Linked DNA regions of Homo sapiens: regions 2 and 3 are each linked to region 1. The links are contacts of gene promoters, found by promoter capture Hi-C in human tissues and cell types (Jung and others, 2019). All regions are on one chromosome and are shown on one strand. The core of a region is centred on a gene start or on the middle of the fragment in contact, and the rest is flanking DNA. Distances in the headings are between cores, read along the strand shown. Region 1 holds the start of TRAP1 (TNF receptor associated protein 1). Region 2 holds the start of CORO7 (coronin 7). Region 3 holds the start of PAM16 (presequence translocase associated motor 16).

What was found. The method cuts DNA at HindIII sites, captures the fragments that hold promoters and counts their contacts. A contact is called where the count stands out against the background at its distance.
Region 2: a contact is called between the fragment with the promoter of CORO7 here and the fragment with the promoter of TRAP1 in region 1, in 1 of the 25 tissues and cell types used here (dorsolateral prefrontal cortex).
Region 3: a contact is called between the fragment with the promoter of PAM16 here and the fragment with the promoter of TRAP1 in region 1, in 6 of the 25 tissues and cell types used here (dorsolateral prefrontal cortex, heart left ventricle, heart right ventricle and 3 more).

What each region holds. Positions count from the first base shown.
Region 1 is chr16:3,715,911-3,719,273 of GRCh38, forward strand. It overlaps TRAP1 (TNF receptor associated protein 1), which reads right to left and starts at 1,614. Exons shown (of 18, transcript NM_016292.3): 1 at 1,511-1,614. The coding sequence starts at 1,598. RefSeq lists silencers at 1,215-1,334, 1,355-1,964. The HindIII fragment of the contact is 28,184 bases long and covers 1-3,363 here.
Region 2 is chr16:4,415,004-4,418,366 of GRCh38, forward strand. CORO7 (coronin 7) reads right to left here and starts at 1,593. Exons shown (of 28, transcript NM_024535.5): 1 at 1,456-1,593. The coding sequence starts at 1,515. CORO7-PAM16 (CORO7-PAM16 readthrough) reads right to left here and starts at 1,593. Exons shown (of 31, transcript NM_001201479.2): 1 at 1,456-1,593. The coding sequence starts at 1,515. It overlaps LOC124903635 (a long non-coding RNA gene), which reads right to left. Exons shown (of 3, transcript XR_007064963.1): 3 at 1,722-1,958. The HindIII fragment of the contact is 38,450 bases long and covers 1-3,363 here.
Region 3 is chr16:4,349,671-4,353,033 of GRCh38, forward strand. It overlaps PAM16 (presequence translocase associated motor 16), which reads right to left and starts at 1,651. Exons shown (of 5, transcript NM_016069.11): 1 at 1,562-1,651. The coding sequence starts at 1,564. The region is part of intron 27 of CORO7-PAM16 (CORO7-PAM16 readthrough); the gene reads right to left. The HindIII fragment of the contact is 27,496 bases long and covers 1-3,363 here.

The DNA.
Region 1 (3,363 bases), core at 364-2,863:
GGAGTGCAGTGGTGCAATCTCAGCTCACTGCAATCTCTGCCTCCTGGGTTCAAGCGATTCTCCTGCCTCAGCCTCCCAAGAAGCTGGGATTACAGGCGCGCGCCACCACACCCAGCTAATTTTTGTATTTTTAGTAGAGACAGGGTTTCACCATGTTGGCCAGGCTGGTCTTGAACTCCTGATCTGCCCACCTCAGGCTCCCAAAGTGCTAGGATTACAGGCGTGAGCCACCGCGCCCGGCCACAAGGTATCTTTTATAGACCACTGGTTTTGAAAAGACATAAGATTCAGCGTTGAAGAAAATACCTTTGGAATAGGCAGTCTTGATGCCTGCTAAAGGGGATATAAATTGATAAGGCCTTTTTGGACAATTTGGCAGTATCTGCTAACATTTCAAAAATGCATAGGCTCTGAAATATCAATTCTAAAATTCTAATTATGTAAGGCTAAAGAAATACCGCACGTGAACAAATATTTAAGTACTCACCCATTCTATGCAGCATTGTAATAAAAAGTAAAACCTGAAATAACCTTTATTGCGTCCACTAATAGGACAATGTTTAAACAAATGACACGTCCATCATACAGAATACTGTGTGGTCACTGGAAGGCACATGGACCTGTATACACTGACATGAAAAGATGTGGAAAGAATGCTGGGAGCGTTAAAATTTTCTGAAGTACAACGTAGCACAATGCATACATGGTTTAGGCTTTTTAGAATAAAAAATACTTATACGCAGACATTTATATTTACACGTATAACACTGTGTACAGCCCCGAAGCAATGCCGAAACTTTCACTGTTGTTACCTCCGAGTGGGGACTGGGAAAGCAGAGGTTAGGGTCGTTCTCTCTGTTTTACAAACATTTATTGGCGCATCCATCAATTCCAGGCCCCGAGGACACAGCTGCGTCAACGACATCGAGTCCACCTGCTCTGGGGACCCGGATGACTGCTATAGGTTTTGTTCACTGTGGCGTCCCCAGAACCTGCACGGCGCCGGGCACTGAGCGGGCGCTCACATGTGCGTCCAATGAACGAATTAACAAATGAACCCTCAGTGCGCTACTGGGAGGCGGGGAGGGGTAAAGCACGATCCATGGAACTAGCACGATCACCCCGAGTGAGTCCATTCCCCGCAACATGCACCCGCAAAGACTCCGCGCTCCGCAGCGGCTCCACCTGCACGTGCGCTACCTGACTGGACCGAAGCTCCAGGAGGGACGACCCCGCAGCCGCTCCGCCCGACCCCGCGACCCCCCAAGACCCAGCCTCCTTCAGGGCTCCCATGGGCGGGTGGCGAGGGGAGTCCAGCCGAGGAAAAGGCAGCCAAGCTGGAGCTGGCGAGGAGCGGAGCGAAAGTAAACGCGTCTGCCGCGCTTGGCCTCGCCGGACCTCCCACGCCTGTGAAGCAGGTGCCGGCGCCTCGCTCCCCGGAGCACAGGGACGTCCCTGCCGTCTCCGTGGCCCGGCCCGCCCGCTGCCCGTCCAGCCAGGACGCCCTCACCTCCCGGCACGGCCGCCAGCGCCGGCGCCCGCAGCAAAGGCCGCAGGCGGCGGCCCCACAGCAGCAGCGCCCGCAGCTCGCGCGCCATGTCGTACTCCCAGAGCGCCGCGCGCAGCCACGCGGGACCGTACACGATGGGAAGGGGCGGGACGGGGCTGCGCGGGGCGGGGCTTCCTCGGGCGCGGGGCGGTGACGTCACGGCGGGCGCCGGGCTGTCCGGGCAGCTGCCTGCTCGGGCGCGTGGCGGGGTACTACCCGTCTCGTGGACGGTCGGGCCTGGGGGTGGGACCTCCGTGACCTTGGATCGCGTTGTCAAGGGCGACGGGCCTTGCGCGCGGAGGTGGGGGAGGTGGCCCCGCCGCCCCCGGCCCACGCTGGCCGGCTGCGCCTAGCTGTGCGCATTCCTGGAATGGGGCGGATGTCAGTATCCACGCGAGGGTGTGGAGGCGACGCTGGGGAAGAAGCAGTTCCCGTGTCTGCGACCTTTGTGAATCCCGGCCATCCGTCTAGGCCGCTGCAAGTCTCTTGCAAACCAAGACTGGACAAAAAGCTAAAGCGAATGAGGAAGGGGATTCCAGGCTTGACTGGCTACTACTCCAAAACCTGAACCCAGTGACCAATACCACCAGGAAAACTGCGGTTATTCGTTTATTCCACTTCTCTTGTCCTTGTCGAGAAGAGTCAAACTCTAAAGTATTTAGAAGGTTATTCTGAGCCAAATATGAGTGTGCATGGAGGGAGGCACAGTCTCAAAAGGTCCTGAGAACTTGGCCCAAGGTGCTTGGGTTACAGCTTGCTTGGTTTTATACATTTTAGAGAGACATAAGACATCAGTCAATGCATGTAAGACATAGGTTGGTTCCGTGTGGAAAGGCAGGACAACTCAAAGGGTGAAATACTTAGAGGTCATAGGTGGATTCAGATACTTTCTGATTGGCAATTGGTTAAAAGAGTTGAGTTCTGGTTGGGCGCGGTGGCTCACGCCTGTAATCCTAGCACTTTGGGAGGCTGAGGTGGGCGGACTGCCTGCGGTCAGGAGTCCGAGACCAGCCTGGCCAACATGGTGAAAACCCATCATCTCTACTAAGATACAAAAAATTAGCTGGGCAAGGTGGCACGTGCCTGTAGTCCCAGCTCCTGGGGAGGCTGAGGCGGAAGAATAGCGTGAACCCGGGAGGCTGCGGTTGCAGTGAGCCGAGATCGTGCCACTTGCACTGCAGCCTGGGCGACAGAGCTGTGACTCCGTCTCAAAAAAAAAAAAAAAAGAAAACAAAAAAAAGAAAAAAAAGAGTTGAGTTATACAGACCTGGAATCAATAAAAAGAGTGTCTGGGTGAAGATAAGGGGTTGTGGGCACGAGCACGGTGACTCACACCTGTAATCCCAACACTTTGGGATGCCGAGGTGGGCGAATTGCTTGAGGTCAGGAGTTGGAGAGCAGCGTGGGCAACATGGTGAGACCCTGTCTGTACCAAACATACCTGTACCGGATGTGGTGGCGGAGGCCTGTAATCCCAGCTACAAGGGAGGCTGAGGTGGGTGGATTGCTTAAGCCCAGGAGGGAGAGGTTGCAGTGAGCCAAGTTCGTGCCATTGAACTCCAGCTTGGGCAAGAGAGCCACACCCTGTCTCAAAACAAACAAACAAACAAACAAACAAAAAACAGGTTGTGAAGACCAAGGTTCTTATTATGTAGAGGAAGTCTCATAGATGACCACCCTTACAGGTAATAGATGGCAAATGTTTTCGCAAATATTGTTTATTCAGACCGTTAAAAATTCCTAGACCCTCAGGATCAGGAAAAGACCTGCAAAGGTGGCCTGGCATGGTGGCTTACGCATGTAATTCCAGCACT
Region 2 (3,363 bases), core at 343-2,842, 700 kb after region 1:
GGAGTGAGTCACCACACCTGGCTAATTTTTTTTTCTTTAACTTGTTGTTCAGAGGGGTTTCGCAATGTTGCCCAGGCTGGTCTCGAACTCCTGAGCTCAAAGCAGTCCACCCAAAGTACTGGGATTACCGTGAGTCATGGTATCCAGCCCCTCCCCCTAACTTTTCAATGGCTCTGCACTGCAATCAGAATAAAACCCAACTTCTTCCGGTGGCCCTTGGGTTCTGCAGGACCACTCTGGACTCATCTGTCACCATACTGCTCCGGCCATCCCCTCCATCCACTCATGCTCACTTTCCATTTCTCCACCAGGCTCTTTCTCAATTCTCACCCTTCTGGCCTCAGCTAAAATGCCATCTACTCCAGGCAGCCTTTCCTGACCACGCTACTGAGACTGGCCCCCTCCATTCTCCATCCCAGTCCCTCATGTGTGTTCTTCAATGTCGTTATGAAAACCTCCAATGCTCTTGTTTGTCTGCTTGCTGTCTCCCTCATGAGGCTACAAGTGCCACAGGGGAAGGAAAATGCCGTTGTGTTCACCGGGATGTCTCCAGCAGCTTAGCACAGCATAAAGTGGAAGCAGAGGAAATATAGTCCACACTACAAAAACGGAACCTCTACCCAGACTGCCCTGACTTGCTCTGGGACCCTGATGGGGTCACTTGAGGTCAACTCCTAGGCCCAGTTATCGGAGGACACTCCCAGGCCTTACAAATAACACGGAAAGCGGAAGAGCAGAGCTGACATCGTTTCCAAGGCGCACCCCTCATCAGTCCTCCTGCCGTTTCGGGGGTCCGAAGGGTCTCCCGGCACCTGGCTCAGCAATTCTTTGGGGCTCCACCTGCTCAGGCTTCCCCAGGCCCCACCCAGCCGTGGCAGCATCACCGAGATAAAGAAAGAGCTTGCGCCAGCGGCGAGAGGAGGAAGCACCGGCGGAAACCCGAGGGAGGGGCGCGTGCGGCCGAGGGGCTCCCTCCCCACCACTGACACACTTGGGCTCGCCGGGGCCAGAGGAGAGAGGGGCGTCTCCCCACAGCCCAGCCAGGGGCAGGGGCGACCCGGGGCGGCAGGGAGGAGGAGCCAGGCGCCGGCAGCGCCCCGAGCCCCGGCTCCCGGCGAGGCCGACCGGAAGCTGGGAAGGCAGGCGGCCTCGCAGGCCTGGGCCCCGGCTAGGAGGGCTGCGCCGCCTCGGGGGTCCCGGGGCGAGGTGGGCGAGGCGGGCAGACCGCCAGGGTCACCGAGCGCCAGAGCGAGTCACGGGAGTGCCGGACTCTGCCCTCCGGCGGCGACGAAACGGCCCGGACGCCGGGGCCCTGGCCTGAAGGGGGGTTCCCCGGGGATGGAGGTCTCGGGGTTCCAGACGGCCCTGGAGGGCACCCCTGTGGGGTCCGGGCAGGGGGAGGGGCAGCCGGACGGGGCCCGAGGCGACAGCGCCCGGTCCTCGGGCCGGACTCACCTCGCGGCGGGGCGGCCGAGCCTCGGTGTGCCGGAACTTGGACACCCTGAAGCGGTTCATGGCGACGGGCACGGCGGCGGACGCGTCTTCGAGGACCCCGGGCGTCGGGTCTCAGGTGCACGCTGAGCAACCGCGACTCCCGCTGCCTCGGCCCCACCCGGGACCCAATGCCGCGGTCACGCCCCCGGCGCGCCCCACTGCCAATCGCAGCCGTCTCCGGCCCCCTGGGCCACGCCCCCAAGCCCCTCTCCTTTCGCGCGCGCACCACCGGTCCCGCCTCCCGGCCAATCCAGGTACGGCCGCCCCGCGAGGCCACGCCCTGATACCGAGGGGACGGACTGGCGCGGGTGGGAGGTCACGTGGGGCGCAGCTGTCAGCCCACGTCTCCTGCGGTGCTTGCTTGCGTGGGGTCTCGGCTGCAGCATTCGCGATTTTGTGTGCAGGATTTGCTGTGGAGTCTTTGCGGTGTACCTAGCACGCCTTCCAGCACTATCTACCTCTTCCTGTAGAGAGGGGAGAAATTAGCTCCATTTCAGAGACAGGAAACCCCCGGCTAAAGGAGAGTGTAAACTGTCGGTCCCCAGGTCACACCAGTGGTAAGAGGCAGAGGGGGAACAGGGGCCCAGGTCTAAAGCAAATCCCTGTCCACCGGGCCTACTCAAAAGCCTCTGCATCCGGCCAGGCGCTCTGCATCCGGCCAGGCGCGGTGGCTCAGGTCTGTAATCCCGAACTTTGGGAGACTGAGGCAGGAGTATCCCTTGAGCCCAAGAGGTCGAGGCTGCAGTTATCTGTGACCGTGCCACTGCACTCCAGCCTGGGAGACAGAAAGAGACCCTGCCTCTAAAAATAATAATAATAATAGCTTTTAATTTTTCTTTAGTATTTATTCATTTATTTGACACGGAGTCCCTGTCACCCAGGCTGGAGTGCAGTGGCGCGATCTCAGCTCACTGCACCCTCTGCCTCGCGGGTTCAAGCAATTCTCTTGCCTCAGCCTCCCGAATAGCTGGGATTACAGGCGCCTGCCACCGCGCCCAACTAATTTTTTATTTTTAGTAAGAGACGGGGTTTCACCATGATGGTCAGGCTGGTCTCGAACGAGACTCAAGCAGTCCTCCCAACTTGGCCTGCCAAAGTGTGGGGATTATAGGAATGAGCCAACGCACCCAGCTGATTCTTGCATTTCTAAGGTTTGAAAAGCAATGCTTACATTTTATCTTAGTTCGGGCAGAAGTGTATTTACTGTGAACCAAAGTCACTTGTGGTTTATTGAAAAGGCTTTTTGTTTGTTTGTTTTGAGACAGAGTCTCACTCTGTTGCCCAGGCTGGAGTGCAGTGGTGTCATCTCAGCTCACTGCAACCTCCACCTCCTGAGTTCAAGCGATTCTCCTGCTTCAGCCTCCCAAGCAGCTGGGATTACAGGTGTGCGCCACTACTCCTAATTTTTGTATTTTTAGTAGAGATGGGATTTTGCCATGTTGGCCAGGCTGGTCTCAAACTCCTGACCTCAAGTGATCCACCTGCCTCAGCCTCCCAAAGTGCTGGGATTAGAGGCATAAGCCACTGCGCCCAGTCCAAAAAGGTTTTTAGAAAATCATCAGGTTGGCCGGGCGCGGTAGCTCACGCCTGTAATCCCAGCACTTTGGGAGGCCAAGGTGGGTGGATCACCAGGTCAGGAGTTCAAGACCAGCCTGGCCAAGATGGTGAAACCCTGTCTGTCCTAAAAATATAAAAATTAGCTGGGCGTGGTGGTGGGTGCTTGTAATCCCAGCTACTTGGGAGGCTGAGGCAGAGAACTGCTTGAACCCGGGAGGCGGAGGTTGCAGTGAGTCGAGATCGTGCCATTGAACTCCAGCTTGGGTGACAGGGCGAGACTCTGTCTCAAAAAAAAAAAAAAAAAGAAAAAAA
Region 3 (3,363 bases), core at 401-2,900, 630 kb after region 1:
GTAGGAGGATGGCTTGAGCCTAGGAGTTCAAGGCTGCAGTGAGCTAGGATCGCTCCACTGCATCCTAGCCGGGGCGACAGACAGACATCCTATCTCAAAAAACAAACCAAAAAAACCCCATGAGTTTTGGGACAGAGCTGGGCTCAAAAGAGGTCTCTGACACCATGGGATGCATGACTATGGTGGAGTCAAAACTGTCTGGGGCTCAGGTTCCTTATCTGTAAAATAAGGACAATGACAGCAGGACTTCATAAACACTAAATGAGAGACTCTACATAAAGCCTTAGCTCAGGGGCTGGCACTTGTACGCCGTTAGCTGTTACATTATCCTTATTACTATGTTAGTTAAGAAGTGGCTCCCCGAACCAGCTGCAACAGAGTCACTTGGGGAACTTACGTGTGCAGAACCTCCAGGGATAGAGCTCAAGAACCTGAACTTTTTTTTTCCCCCTCTTTTTCTTTTTGAGAGAGTTTTGCCCTGTCGCCCAGACTGGAGTGCAGTGGCACAATCTTGGTTCACTGCAGCCTCTGCCTCCTGGGTTCAAGCGATACTGGCGCCTCAACTTCCCAAGCAGCTGGGATTACAGGTGTGTGCCACCATGCCTGGCTAACATATGTATATATTATGTGTGTGTGTGTGTATATATATATATAAAATACATGATATATAAAAATATATATAACATAATAATATGTAGTATACATAAATGTATACGGTATATATAATACATATATATAATTTTTTTTTTGAGACGCAGTCTCACCCTGTCGCCCAGGCTAGAGTGCACTGGCGGATCTCGGCTCATTGCAACCTCTGTCTCGCGGGTTCAAGCGTCTGTCCTGCCTCAGCCTCCCGGGTAGCTTGGACTACAGGCGCGCACCACCCCACCCGGCTAATTTTTTAAATTTTTTGGTGGAGACCGGGTTTCATCATGTTGGCCAGGCTGGTCTCGAACTCCTGACCTCGTGATCCGCCGCCTCGGCCTCCCAGAGTGCTGGGATTACAGGCGTGAGCCACCGCGCCCAGCCAAACCTGCACTTTTAAAGCTACCCTAGGTGACCTGACAGTGTGGCGCAGGTCTGTTGACTGGCTCTACGTGCCAACGATATCACACAAACGCTCCGTGCTCGGTGTCTCGGGGCCTAGTTCAAGTCCCAGGTCAGCCACTTCCCTGGAAAGGCCAGCTTTCCACTGGGGATAACAACAGGGCAGCAACATCGACTCTGCAGCGCTGTAAGGTTCCAGGGCAGGGGAGGCGCTCACCAGCCAGACTCATGCTCCACCGCTGCCCACGGCTGCTCGCTCACACGCGGGCTAGGCACAGCGCGACCACGTTTGCCCGGCCTCTTCCAGGCAGACGGTTTTCCCTGGCCCTGAGGCCGCCGGTGCCGCCGCTGCCGGCCTCGATTCCCCCGGGTGCAACGCCCCCAGACCATGCTTCCCGCCGGGCACGCAGGGGGCGCACGGCGCCCGCCGCCCAGCCCGGAGCTCGCCGCCCGGCCCCCGGCCCCCGGCCCGACTCGGCTTCCCCTCCCCGGTAGCGCCCGACTCGGGGCTCACCATGGCAGCCGCTCTGCCTCCGGGGCTCAAACTCCGACTTCCTGGCCCCGCGGCCGGGGATCAAGCGTGGTCGGCGGGTCAGAGGTCAAGGAAAGCCGCAGAGAGCGCGTGCGCGATACGGCGCTGGGCATGCGCATTGCCTCAGTCTAAGGGCGGGCCACCGGGAGCGTCTTAGCGGCTCGGGGCGGGGTCGGAGGCGGGGTTTGACTGAGCCTGCGTCGGGCTCTGGATAACTGGGGGCGGGCTTGGGAGGGCAAGGGGCGTTACCGGGAGTCTCAATTGCCCGCGTGCTTACCCCAGTGCGCTGGAGCAGCTAAGCACATCGGTCAGACGTGGGGCGATTTCTGCCCTTGATTTTGCCAAAATATTTGGGAATGCAACATTATATGAAATCAATGAACATAATATGGAGTAGGATGCTAAATTCTCAAAAATACTTTAGAAAATAGAAAACTTCAAAATAGGTTTCATCCACATTCCTCCTGCCTGAGAAGCTCGTTCCCTTCTTCAAATCTTTGCTCAAATGTCACCTCAATGAGGCCCACCTGGACCCCTTAAAACGCCGTGACTTGCCCTCCATGAATGAAAAAAGTAACAGCTTTATTGAGATATAATCCATACACTGTAGATTTCATGATTTTCAAGTGCACAGTCCAATGCCTTTTATTCACAGAGCTGTGCCACTGTCACCACTATTAGTTCCAGAACGTTTTCATCACCCATTAGTCACTCCCCAGCCCCCTCCCCCAGCCCCTGTCAACCACTCATTTTTCTCTCTATGGATTCACAGGTTCCGGACATTTCATAGAAATGGAATCATACAAGCCAGGCGTGGTGGCTCATGCCTGCAATCTCAAAACTTTGGGAGGCCGAGGTGGATCGCTTGAGGTCAGGAACTCAAGGCCAGGCTGGGCAACATGGTGAAACCCCATCTCTACAAATACAAAAATTAGCCGGGTGTGGTGGCAGGTGCCTGTAATCCCAGCTACTTGGGAGGCTGAGTGGTGGATCTCTTGAGCCCGGGAGGTACAGGCTGCAGTGAGCTGTGATCACTGCACTCCAGCCTGGGTGACAGAGTCAGGCCCTGCCTCAAAAAAAAAAAAAAAAAAAAAAAAGGTAAAAATGAAAAATGAAAAAAAAGAAGAAATTGAATCATACAATGTGCAGCCTTTTGTGACTGGCTTATCCTCCCTTCTTGTCTCTATTTTTCTTCCAAGACTCTGATCACCCTCTACCATACCACATAATTTACTTATTTATTTTATTTATCATTTTGAGACAGGGTCTCACCCTGTCGCCCAGGCTGGAGTCCAGTGGCACAATCCTGCCTCACTGCAACCTCCACCTCCCAGGTTCAGGCGATGCTCATGCTTTAGCCTCCTGAGTAGCTGGGATTACAGGCATGGACCACCATGCCCCATTAATTTTTGAATTTTTAGTAGAGACAGGGTTTCACCATGTTGGCCAGGCTGGTCTTGAACTACTGGTCTCAAATGATCCACCCGCCACAGCCTCCCAAAGTGCTGGGATTATAGGCATGTGACACTGTGCCCAACCGGTTTTTTATTTTTAAATTATTTTTCCTTTTTTTTTTTTTTTTGAGATGAAGTCTTGCTCTGTCACCCAGGCTGGAGAGCAGTGGCCCAATCTTGGCTCACTGCGATCTCCACCTCCTGGGTTCAAGTGATCCTCCCACTTCAGCCTCCGAAAGTGCTGGGATTACAGGTGTAAGCCACCGTGCCCAGCCAAAAAAAAATTTTTTTTTTTCAAGATAGGGTCTCACTCTGTTGCCCAGGCTGCAG